Regions from separate parts of the Homo sapiens genome. Here all the other regions are linked to region 3. Evidence: promoter capture Hi-C in 16 types of primary human blood cells and fetal thymus (Javierre and others, 2016). All regions are on one chromosome and are shown on one strand. Each heading gives the region's core, a stretch centred on a gene start or on the middle of the fragment in contact. The rest is flanking DNA. Distances are from core to core; before and after follow the strand shown. Region 1 holds the start of EHD2 (EH domain containing 2). Region 2 overlaps BICRA (BRD4 interacting chromatin remodeling complex associated protein). Region 3 holds the start of MEIS3 (Meis homeobox 3).

Evidence for each region. Contacts are between HindIII fragments. The CHiCAGO score rates a contact against its expected background, and 5 or more counts as called.
Region 1: a contact is called between the fragment with the promoter of EHD2 here and the fragment with the promoter of MEIS3 in region 3, in 4 of 17 cell types (neutrophils, erythroblasts, naive CD8 T cells and 1 more). The highest score is 9.3, in neutrophils.
Region 2: a contact is called between a fragment that was not itself captured here and the fragment with the promoter of MEIS3 in region 3, in 5 of 17 cell types (erythroblasts, neutrophils, endothelial precursors and 2 more). The highest score is 5.6, in erythroblasts.

The regions. Positions count from the first base shown.
Region 1 is chr19:47,712,062-47,716,360 of GRCh38, forward strand. It overlaps EHD2 (EH domain containing 2), which reads left to right and starts at 1,361. Exons shown (of 6, transcript NM_014601.4): 1 at 1,361-1,477. RefSeq lists a silencer at 1,238-1,337. The HindIII fragment of the contact is 37,601 bases long and covers 1-4,299 here.
Region 2 is chr19:47,684,646-47,688,728 of GRCh38, forward strand. All of the region lies in intron 7 of BICRA (BRD4 interacting chromatin remodeling complex associated protein), which reads left to right. Among named protein-coding and RNA genes, the nearest start is that of EHD2, 27 kb to the right of the region's middle. The HindIII fragment of the contact is 2,612 bases long and covers 664-3,275 here.
Region 3 is chr19:47,417,380-47,421,356 of GRCh38, forward strand. MEIS3 (Meis homeobox 3) reads right to left here and starts at 2,148. Exons shown (of 13, transcript NM_001301059.2): 1 at 1,691-2,148. The coding sequence starts at 1,702. RefSeq lists enhancers at 242-1,234, 1,235-2,228. The HindIII fragment of the contact is 31,601 bases long and covers 121-3,977 here.

The sequences.
Region 1 (4,299 bases), core at 111-2,610, 290 kb after region 3:
GCAGGGACCTGAAGGAGGGGAGAGAGTGAGGCATTCAGATCCCTATGGGGAAAGTACTCCATGGAGAGGAGTCAGCAAGTGCAAAGGCCATGAACTTGGAGGGTTGGGGGTGTGTCTGAGGAATGGTGAGGAGGCCACGGCGGTTGGAGCCGCCTGAGGAAGGGGGACAGGGGAGATGTAGGTGGATCATGCTAGGCTTTGTGGGCCTTGGTGTGGACTTCGGCTTTTACTCTGAGAGAGAGGAGAGCCAGGGAGGGTTGTCAGCTGAGAAGTTTCATCAACTCCCTTAAGTTTTAATATTAATATTATATTTACTTATTTATTTGCGATGGATTCTCACTCTGTCACCCAGGCTGGAGTGCAGTGGCGTGATCTTGGCTCACTGCAACCTCTGCCTCCTGGGTTCCAGTGATTCTGGAACTTGGGAGCCTCAGCCTCCCAAGTAGCTAGGACTACAGGTGCGTGCCTGCATCCAGCTAATTTTTGTTTATTTATTTATTTTTGAGATGGAGTCTTGCTCTGTCCCCAGGCTGGAGTGCAGTGGCGCAATCACTGCAAGCTCCACCTCCCCTGTGTTTAAGTGATTCTCCTGCCTCAGCTTCCCAAATAGCTGGGACTACAGGCGCCCGCCACCACGCCCAGCTAATTTTTTTGTATTTTTAGTAGAGATGGGTTTGCACCATGTTGGCCAGGCTGGTCTTGAACTCCTGACCTCAAGTGATCCACCCGCCTCGGCCTCCCAAAGTGCTGGGATTACAGGCGTGAGCCACCGCGCCCCGTCCTATTATTTTTTTTAGAGGTGAGGTCTCGCTCTGTCACCCAGGCTGGAGTGCAGTGGCACAATCATAGCTCACTGCAGCCTTGACCTCCTGGGTTCAAGCTATCCTCCCACCTCAGCTTTCCAAGTTGCTGGGATCACAGGTGTGCACCCCTGTGCCTGGCTAAATTATTTTATTATTTATTATTATTTTTAATAGACATGGGGTCTCGCTATATTGTCCAGGCTGGTCTTGGACTCCTGGCCTCAAGCAATCTTCCCACCCTGGCCTTCCAAAGTGTTAGGGTTACAGGCGTGAGCCAGGGCGCCCGACCTGTTATTGTTACTATTATTGCTGCTGCTGTTGTGATTCCCGTGTTAAGAAGAGAGACAGACTGGGGAGCAGCCCAACGCTGGAGGTGGAGGCGGAATTCGAACCCCAGGCTGGACGCTGGAGCTCTCGCCCGCCGTGCTAAGGCGTCTTCCCCACTCCCCACAAGGGGGCGCCAGAGGCCGGGCGCCCGGTTTTGAGGGGGGCGCCTCGTCCCGCCCCTCCCTCCTGTCCTCCCTCCCGTCCTCCCCGCTCCGGGCCCCACCCGGCTCAGACGGCTCCGGACGGGACCGCGAGCACAGGCCGCTCCGCGGGCGCTTCGGATCCTCGCGGGACCCCACCCTCTCCCAGCCTGCCCAGCCCGCTGCAGCCGCCAGCGCGCCCCGTCGGTGAGTGCTCCCAGCACCGCAGCTGTCGCCTCCCGACCCCCGCCCAAGCCTGCCCTGGTTCCTCATGCCTGACCCCTGCTCCCTGCCACCCTGTCCCCAGTCTGTAACGGTCTCCCCAGGTGTCCCCCAGTCTTCACCAGTCCCCCCAGTCTGTAACCATGTCCCCCACTCTTCCCACTCCTCCCACTCTTCCTCCCACTCTTCCTCCAGTCTTTCGCAGCCTCTCACACTCCCCCAGTCTCCTCCATCCTCCCCCAACACCCCTCCCTATCCCCTGGGCTAGAAGAGATCCTCTCTGCAGGGTCTCCCTCCACGCCCTCATCCATATCAGCTAACTTGGTCCCTCCAGCCACTCAAGAGCCCCTCTCCTGCCTCACCAGCTCCATCGGCCACCGCTGATAGCATTCTCCCCAGCTCTCTCTCAGGGCCCTCCCTGCCTGGGACACCGCCCAGAGCCCTCTCCCTCTGCCCACATCCCAGATCCTGCCTCTCTTTTCCATTCTTGCCACTCCTTTACGAACTCCTTTTGCTTTTATCTCCCCTACTCCCTGGCCACCCCTTTTAAGTCTCATGATTTTATGGATTTTAGCATATTTGATTTGCAGTTATTTTGATGCTCAAATTGCCCCATGTTTGGCCACTGGGCACCCCTGCAAGCTGGGTCCTCTGTCCCTGTAACATGCCCTATCGGCCTTTGAGCACTTCCTCACCTTCTGACCCAGGCTCACTTGTTCTTCCCTGCCCCCGCCCTGGAATCCACCATTTCTCTAAGGAGTCCCAGGTTCTTTTAGTGGGGAATGGTATTTAGAGACTCCCATCTCACCAAAAGTTGATTCTTTGAAAAGATCAGTAAAATCATAAGCATCAACGGGGAGCAATCGTTTTTGTTTTTCTTTTTTAAAAAAAGCAAATACCCACACCTGTGGCTGATATCGGGAATGAAAGAGGGGACATCACTACAGATCCTACGGTGAATAAAAGGCTAGTAAGGGAAGATAGAGAACACAGTCTGGGTGCTGGAGGTGCTCATTGCTCCTGGGTTGGTCATGGCTAACCTCCCTAACTCAGATCTTTAGACCTATAATAGGATTGCAACCTCTGAGGTCAGGCTGCCTGTGTTTGAGTCCCAGCTTGAGCATTTTCCAGCTAAGTGATCTTGGGTAATTTATTGCTGTCTTCCTGAGCCTCCTTTGCCTTGTTAAAAAAGCAGAGATGAGCCGGCATGGTGGCACACACCTGTAATCCCAACAATTTGGGAGGCTGAGGTGGGTGGATCACCTGAGCTCAGGAGTTCGAGACCACCCAGGGCAACATGGTGAAACCCATCTCTACTAAAAATACAAAAAAAAATTAACTGGGTGTGGTGGTGCATGCCTCTAGTCCCAACTACTTGGGAGGCTGAGGCAGGAGAATCCCTTGAGCCCCAGAGGTGAAGGCTGCAGTGAGCTGAGATTGTATCACTGCACTCCAGCTTGGGCTACAGAGTGAGACTCCATCTCCAAATAAATAAATAAATAAATAAATAAATAAATAAATAAATAAAAAGAAAGAAAAGCAAAGCAAAGCAGGGATGATAATAGACCTACTTTACAGGGTTATAAATGTTAAGTGAGTTAGTACAGTACCTGGCATGCAGTGATCATAAATGTTGCATTATTTTTCTTGTTAACACCCAACAGCCCTCATGACCTGGGTGCACCCAGGCAACCTTCTCAGCTCCATTTCTCACCCCTCCTCTTTGTGCCCCTGTGTCTGGCCACCTACCCAGATGTTTCATGGCTCCCAGTACACCAGGACCTTTCACATCCCCAGACCTTTGCACGCACCGTCCTCTCTGCCTAAATCCCCTTGTCTTGCCTGCTCTTCATGGAGCAGCTCAAAAGTCAACCCTGCCCTGAGTCTTACTGGTGCTGTGGTCTGTTTCTCATGCCCTCCTCTGGATGTCTGGCATGTGTCTGGGTCCTTACTGGGGGCCCTGGGTGGGTAGGGGATGATCTCTGGCTCATTTCTGGGTCCACAGTGCCTGAAGCATGGAGTGAGTGATTTCAGTGAAAAGGTGTCAAATGATGGAAGGGAGAAGGGAGGAAGAAATGAATGAAGCGATTAAGGAATCCGTTTCTTCCAGGCAGCTTCTGCATCCTTCGCCTTGTCCATCTCTTGGTCTTCCACTACCACCATCAATCCCCCTTCTTCAACCATGTCACCATTAATCTTTCTCCTCCTTCAGCTGGTTCGCTACGATCTCCCTATTTTTTTTGAAATGGAGTGTCGCTCTGTCAAGTGCAGTGGCGGGATCTCGGCTCACTGCAACCTCTGCCTCCTGGGTTCAAGTGATTCTCCTGTCTCAGCCTCCCAAGTAGCTGGGACTACAGGTGGCCACCACCAGGCCTGGCTAATTTTTTGTATGTTTAGTAGAGACAGGATTGCACCATATTGGTCAGGCTGGTCTCAAACTCCTGACCTCAGGTGGTCCACCTGCCTCAGCCTCCCGAAGTGCTGGGATTACAGGCATGAGCCACTGTGCCTGGCCTTTTTTTTTTTTTTTTTTTTTGAGATGGGGTCTTACTCTGTAGCCCAGGCTGGAGTGCAGCGGCATGATCATAGCTCACTGCAGCCTGCAGCCTTGAACTCCTGAGCTCAAGCAATCCTCCTGCCTCAGCCTCCCAAAGTGCTAGGACTACAGGCATGCACCACCATGCCCAGCTAATTATTTTTTTTGTAGAGATGGGGGTCTCACTATTTTACCCAGGCTGGTCTTCAACTACTGACCTCAAGCAATCCTCCTACCTCAGCCTCCCAAAATACTAGGATTACAGGTGTGA
Region 2 (4,083 bases), core at 720-3,219, 270 kb after region 3:
ACCTCCACCAGGTAGGTGGTAGCATCTCATTTTGCAGGTGAGGAAACAGAGGCACAGGGAGAATAATTAGCTTGCCCAAGGTTGCACAGCTGGCAAATGGTAGGGCCTGGATTAAAAACCCTGGGGGCTTATTGCTGGAAACACCTGAAGTCTTGAGAAAGCCAGACCTGGGTGTGAATCCAGCTCTGCTTAGTGGAGCTCTCTGAGGCATGGATTTTGCATCTAAAATGGGAATAAGCCCAGTGACCTGACATGATGGCACTGCACAGAGCCAGCGCTCAGTGAACAGACACTTACTGTTAGCAGTTGCAGTAATGATGCTGTAGCTGAACTTATTTTTTTGGAAACAGGGTCTGGTTCTGTCACCCAGGCTGGAGTACACTGGTGCAATATTGACTCCTACAACCTCCGCCTCCCATGCTTAAGTGATCCTCCCACCTCAGCCTCCGAAGTAGCTGGGACTACAGGCATGTGCCACCACGCACAGCTAATTTTTTTTTTTTTTGTATTTTGTTTTGTGGGGGAGATATGGGGTCTCACTATGCAGCCCAGGCTGGTCTCGAACTCCTAGGCTTAGTAATCCTCCCACCTTGGCTTCTCACAGGGCTGGGATTATGGACGTGAGCCACTGTGCCTGGCCACGCGGATGACCTTTGAGAAGGAAGCTTAGTGCGCACAGGCAGGTGTGCACACGAGCTGATTCTTAGTCACACACAGAGGCTCGGAGGCACAAGGTAGGGCCCTCCGCAGTAGCTGTATCTGCAGCAGTGGGGACCCAGCATGACAGAAGGTGGTCAGTGAATGTTTGTTGGGTGAGCAAATGGATGGACAGATGGATGGCTGAATAGACGGACGGATGGATGGCATGGGTGGGTGTGTGACTGGGTGATTGGCCAAGTGTCCCCTGGTGGGGACAGAATCATCCAGACTGGGAACCGCTATCCTGTGGATATGCAGGAATGCACGGAATAGCAGTTCCCAATCTGGGTGATTCTTACTGTTTGTAAGAATAGTGGTTCCCTTACTGTCCGAACTCCAACCCCTGCACTCGGAAGGAACTCTGTGCTCTCTGTACCCAGATGGATTTGGCAGCCTCTGTGTGTGTGTGTGTGTGTGTGTGTGTGTGTGTGTGTGTGTGTGTGCGCGCGCGCGCGCATGCGTACATTTTCCCTTTGTGTTAACACAAACAGAAATGCAAAGACTGTGTTCTGCATCTGGCTTTGCTTATTTAGCAACGCATCTTGGAGCACTGGCTTTCAGACCTTTTTTTTTCCTTGACCCACCACCCGGGATAAGAATTTGTTTTTTTTTTTTTTTCTCTGTCACCCAGGCTGGAGTGCAGTGGCACGATCTTGGCTAACTGCAACCTTCACCTCCCAGGTTCAAGCGATTCTCCTGCCTCAGCCTCCCGAGTAGCTGGGACTACAGGCGCACGCCACCGCATCCAGCTAATATTTGTATTTTTAGTAGAGACAGGTTTTCTCCATGTTGGCCAGGCTGGTCTTGAACTCCTTACCTCAGGTGATCTGTCTGCCTTGGCCTCCCAAAGTCCTGGGATTACAGGCATGAGCCACCATGCCCGGCACAAGAATTTCATTTTATGTCACCACCCAGGACATGCATACATATATGTATTTGTATATATACACATATCACTGAAACAAAAGTTTCATGAAATATTACCTATATTACAATGTGTGATACACATCAATATTTTCTATTTTGTTTCCATTGTTTTTTCTGGGGTTAGCGGGGAGGCATGGAGTCTCCCTCTGCTGCCCAGGCTGGAGTGTAGTGGCACTATCTCGGCTCACTGCAACCTCCACCTCCCAGGTTCAAGCGATTCTCCTGCCTCAGCTTCCCAAGTAGCTGGGATTACAGGAGTGCCCCACCATGCCAAGCTGATTTTTGTATTTTTAGTTGAGACAAGGTTTCACCATGTTGCCGAGGGTGGTCTCAAACTCCTGACCTCAGGTGATCTGCCCACCTTGGCCTCCCAAAGTGCTGAGATTACAGGCGTGAGCCACTGCGCCCAGCCTCTACTGTTCTTTTTAAGTGCTGGTTCCAACTCCCTAAGATGACTTGAGCCATTACCAATGGTTACTATGTGTAGGGGTGTGTTTTTATTTTTGGGGGTTTTTTTGCAAGCTACCATCTGGGAAGATTGCTGTGATGTGGGAGTTAGGAAATAGGACTTGGCCACTTACAGGCCCTGTGACCTTCAGCAGGCTGCTTGCCTCTCTGTTGTACCACGGTGTCCTTGCGTGCAGAATCAGAATGATAGGAACAGCGGCTACTTTGTAGAGCTGTGAGGGTTAAATAAACTAATATCTGTAAATTAATAGATGTATATTAACATTAAAATGTTTTAGAACAGAGTTGGGCATGTTGAAAGAGCTATGAAGGGAAAGAAGCCAGGCAAACTTTCTTTTTGCTTATTTGATTTTTATTCATTTATTTGTTTATTTTTCTGGGCAACTTTCTATAAAGAGGCAATAGTAAACGTTTCAGGCTTTTGCGGGCCATATGGTCTCTGTTATTATAGCACAAAAGCAGCCACAGACCATATGTAAATGAATGAACACGGGAGTGTTCCAATAAAACTTTATTTAAGGACACTGAAATTGGAATTTCATGTAATTTTTGCAAGTCACGAAATAGTATTCTTATGATTTTTTTTCTTCAACTGTTTAAAAATGTAAAAATTATTCTTGGCTTGTGGGCTATAGTTTGCCTCTTTCTTTTGATGTCTTTATTGTGTTTTGTGATATGGACATACCATTATTTCTTTATTCAGTCCCCTCTTGAGGAATACTTCAGGTGGTTTATTTGTCATTGTTAACAAACAAAACTCCTATAAGATATTCTTGACTGAGCGTGTTGGCTCACACCTGTAGTCTCAGCACTTTGGGAGGCCGAGGCGGGCAATCACCTGAGGTCAGGAGTGTGAGACCAGCCTGGCCAACATGGGGAAACCCCATCTCTACTAAAAATACAAAAATGAGCCAGGCGTGATGGTGGGCACCTGTAATCCCAGCTATGCTACTTGGGAGGCTGAGGCAGGGGAATCCCTTGAACCTGGGAGGCGGAGATTGTAGTGAGCCTAGAGAGGGTTGCAGTGAGCTGAGATCGTGCCACTACACTCTAGCCTAGGCAGCAGAGTGAGACTCTGCCTCAAAAAAAAAAAAAAAAACTTGCACCCATGCTTTGCACACAGGTATGAAAGTACTTGTAGGGTAAATTTCTAGAAATAGAATTGCCAGACGTAGATGATAAGCTTTCCAGCCATTTTGTGGAAAGTGCTAAACCTTTTTGAAAAGGTTCATGCCAGTGATGGCTTCACTTGGTCCTGCAGCTTTACTGACACACGAGATTAGCAGCTGGCCTGTTCTTTGCCAGGCTGGAAAGTGACACACCCCCTGTGCTTTTCTCTAATTGTGTGTGAAGTTGAGCATCTTGCCGCCTCCACGTGGGGCTCTCGAAATCTCTTGGAAGCTGGGCGTGGTGGCTCATGCCTGTAGTCCCAGCTACTCAGGAGGGAGGCTGAGGCAGGAGGATCACCTGAGCCCAGGAGTTTGAGGTCAGCCTGAACAACATAGCGAGATCTCATTTCTGAAGAAAGAAAGAAATGGAAGGAAGAGAAGGAGGGAATCTCTTGGTGAACAATCCACTCATATGTTAGTTTTTTTGCTTTGGGAAGCTAAGATGGGGGATCACTTGAGGCTAGCAGTTGAAGACCAAATAATAATAATAATTTTGTGCTCATTTAGAGAATGTAGAAAATACAGAAAAGAACAAAGAAGAAAAATAAGTCACATGTAATACCACTGTGTGCAAGCAGTTGGTAAAAAAAAATTTTTTCTGGCCAGGCACAGTGGCTCATGCCTGTAATCCCAACATTTTGGGAAGCCGAGTTGGGTGGATCACGAGGTCAAGATATCGAGACCATCCTGGCCAACATGGTGAAACCCCGTCTCTACTAAAAATACAAAAATTAGCTGGGCATGGTGGTGTGTGCCTGTAATCCCAGCTACTCAGGAGGCTGAGGCAGGAGAATTGCTTGAACCCGGGAGGCGGAGGTTG
Region 3 (3,977 bases), core at 898-3,397:
GCCCCAGGGAGGGGTCAGCACCCCGAGACTCGGCTGAGGAGCTTCTCTATCCTGGAACCCAGGAGATGCCCTTCTGTGTCCCAGAAACCTGCCTGTGGTCCCCAGGTGTCTGAGCCCCCAAGCTTGAAGCCCTCCAGGTCCCCTGGAGCTGCCTCGGTGGGGAGTGAGGACCCCGTCCAGGCAGAGATTCCTGACATGTGGGCAGGAGGACCCAGAGGGAGAGACGGCAGGGTCTGGCTGGGAGGGAAAAGAGATGGAGAAAGTGGCGTGAGAAGACAGTGACAGAGACAGAGAGAGAGACAGACAGAGAGGGAGATCCATGGACACCTCCTGTAGGAACCGCGCATTGTTGTACACAAAGTACACATACGAAGCCTCCCTGTCTTCTATTTCATTTCACAGTTGGCAGATAAGCGCATCAGAGTAAGTCTCAACAACATGTCACACTCCACTCGCCACGTGAATCTACCACACATGTAGACACAGCCATACACACCAACCCACGTGCACACTCATGTGTCAGTCACACCCAAATCCCCCCCCCCACACACACATGCACACACACATGCACACAGCCCAACACCAGGCACAAGAATGAATGCATGATTGAGACATTTGGCACATGGATGAATGAATGAATGAGGCATTTAGCACAGGGCCTGGCTCATGCTGTGAGCACTTGTTGCCGGAGAGGGTCACTCCGCACCACCATACAGACACGATTGCGCACCCAAGAGAAACACCATTATGGGGTAGGACGACCGCGTCCTGTCGTCACAGAACCATGCACCTGGGAAGCCAGGGGCACCTTCCTCTCATCAGGTCAAATCCCTTCCTCAGTGATGAAGACACGGAGGCTCAAAGAGGCAGCAGGACTCGCACGGGAAGAGGCTAGAACGTTCCTGCCTCGGACCCTCGCCTGGCTGGGCACCCTGGTTCTGTGTGTCCCACTCTTTCCCTCTCCCTCTTCTCCTAACTTCTCCTGTGCCCTGAAGTTGAATCCAACTGCTCCCCGCTGCTCAAGGCACTCTCACCAAAAGCGGTCCTCACAGCCTACCCGGAACCCCCAAAACGGGCGCGCGCCTCCTCCCCTGTCTTCTATCCCCGTTCCCATCCCCAGGGAGACAGGCTCCGTGGGGCCAGCAGCCTGGTGAGACCACCTCTCCCACCCCTGTCCCACTCCTAGCCCTGGAGAGGCAGGGGCGGCTTGGAACAAAAGTAGAGCGAAGGGAAGGACGGAGGAGAGCAGAAAAAAGGGGGGACGGTGAGGTGCGGGCGGCTGAGATGGAGGAGGAAGCCCAGGAACAGAGGAGAGAGACTGCGGGTGGGGGAGGGCAGAGAGAGGGGGATAGAGAGGCAGAAAGAGGGGGGAGACCAGGGACAGAGAGAGGGGGACAGAGAGGCAGAAAGGAGGAGGAGAGTGGGGCAGACAGAGGGGGACAGAGGGGCAGGGAGAAGGAGAAGCTAAACGATGGGGAGGAGGCGAGGCCGAGGGCCAGGAAGAGACACTTGGGGGCAGAGAGGGGGCACACAGGGACTGGGAGACCCAGGGGCGGAGGGAGGGGCAGAGAGAGAGCGAGGTGGTGTAGAGGACGGATGGGCTAATGGGGGCCAGCGCCGGAGAGTGGGGGATGCAGGGACAGGGGGTGCGGAAGCGGCCGGGACGCGGGGTCCCCGCCCCGAGACCTACCCTCCGGGCCATGGGCTGAGGCCGGCGGCAGCTCCTGGGTCCCTCCAGAGCCTGGCCGCGGGGGAGGGCGCAGCCCGGGGCCGCAGCCCCTGACGGCCCGCGGTGTTGACGCCAGGGGGTGGGCAGGAGGCCAGGCGCGCGCCCCCCCACCCCCGCCGCCGTCAGCGGCAGGCGCCGGGCCGGGTGGGGACTCCGCGCATGGACCCCGGCCCCCGCCCCCAGCGGGGGTCACGGCCAGGAGCGCATCGCCGCCGGGGCGGGGGCAGCAGGCGCAGGCGGGGCGCCCGAGGCCCCCTCCTCTGGGCCCCCCCCGTCCCTTCCCCGGCTCTGGAGGGAATCGAACCGTCCCGAGACGGACACACCGGGGACCGCAGGGGGCGGGGGGCGGCCCGGGGCGACGGAGGGTCCGGCGGCGGCTCAGGGGTGCTGGCAGCCGCGCTCCCCGTTCCCGGTCTCTCCCTTGTCTTGTGGAAATTAAACAGAACCACCAAGGAGCGGGATAGGGGATGAGCCAGAGTGAGCCTGCAGAGCTACAGCACGAGGGATTGGGGTTAGGGCAGCAGCAGCACTTCCGGTGGGAGTCGGGGAGGGGCAGGCTGTGGGGGGAGGAGAGGAAGAGACCGCGGCCCTGGTGCCCCCAGGCCCCTCCTCTCCTACCCAGGGCTGGGGTTCCTGCTCCGGGTTTCTCAGTCTCCCTCTTTCCCAGTCTCTCTCTCCTTGTCTCTCTCTGTCTCCGCTTCTCCCGTCCTTTCTCTCCTCTGGCTCTCTGTTCTCCGAGCCCCCTGGACACACCACGGACCCCCTCCCTGGCCATCTCCAGGGGTCACGTGGGAATCTGGAGTCTGGTCCCACCGTAGGCTCTCCCCTCTCTGAGGCTCGATTCCCCCTCTGCAGGATGGGCAGTGCGCTGGGGGCGGCGGGGGTGGGCTGTGGATAACGGAGAAACAGTTAAGCTAGAGGGTGCCAGGACTCAGGGTCTTGGCTGAGTCTGGGGGTCCCCATGCCGGCGGGCTCTGCCCCCGTGGCTGTCCTGCGGTGAGGCTGGCCGTTTAAGGCAGTCCGAGGGGAAGGGTCTGGAGGCCTTGCCTTTCCTCAAGGCCGGCGCACCCCAGATAGGGGTTTTGGAGCAGAAAATTAATTTAAATCACTTTTTAATTAAAGACACAAGGCCCTTTGGTCTGCTCCACCCCCACCTCACCCTCAGCCAAGACTTGGGGTGAGGGATGCAAGGGTTAGGAGTCTCTGGCTCTATTTGCTTTTTTGGGGGGTGGTGCATGCTAAGGTCCCCTTAGCCCAGGCTGATTCTGAAACCTAGAGGAGCAAGTGCGGCCTCATCTGACGGCCAGTGGTGGGGGGCGTGGACAGAGCAGGAAGGGAGGGAGGGGGCACCTGGGATGGGGATGGGGCCTAACTGGAGTGGGGAGGGAGGTAACTCCAGTGACGGTGTGATTCAGAGAGAGAGAGAGACAGAGACAGACGCGGGTGGGAGGAGAGAGAGAGAGAGGTGCAGACAGAGTGAGACAGACAGGAGGGGGAGGGAGTGGGGGACAGGAGCTCCAATAGAGACCCTGGAGTCGTCCCTGCCACCCCCAAAACAAGAGCAGGGGGCTTGGACTCTGAAGCATAAATCTTTCTAATTAAAGAAAGAGACGAGCTGTTGGGAAGGGAGAAATAAGTGTGTGGGAGAGAAATTGATTGGGGGAGGATGGAGGATGCCGGCGGGGGACGGAGGGAGCAGGGGGGAGGCTCCGGCTTTCTGAGGCTCTTCCTCCAGTCTTTCCCTCTGTCTGTCCATCCGTCTGTCTGTCCGTCTCTGTCTCTCGCTCTCTCTCTCTCTCTCTCACACACACACACACACACACACACACACACTCTCTCTCTCTCTCTCTCTCTCTCTCTCTCTCTTCCTGGCTGTCTCCCTTAAATAGTCCTGGGACCCTTCTGTTCCCAGGGGGAGGGAGCAGGTGGCGGCCAGGCCTGGTGCTGGAGCGGGGGTGCCTGTGTCACTGCGTCGCGGCTGCCTGTCGGCTCTTCGAGGGTGTGCTTGGGCCTCCCTGTGACAGTGTCTGGAAGCGTCTTCCCTGCCCGGCTGAGTGGCTCCCTGGGTGGCATCAGAGTGACCCCAGCTCCCAGTCTGCAGGGGTCTCCGCCCTCTAGCCCTGTCCTGCACCTGTTTTACAGACGGGAAGCGTGGAGCCCTCTATGAGTAGATCTGGGGGACCTCATGGGTCTCCCCAGCACGGGCTGGGCGATCTCTCAGCGGACTGGCCCTTCAGTGCCCCAACCT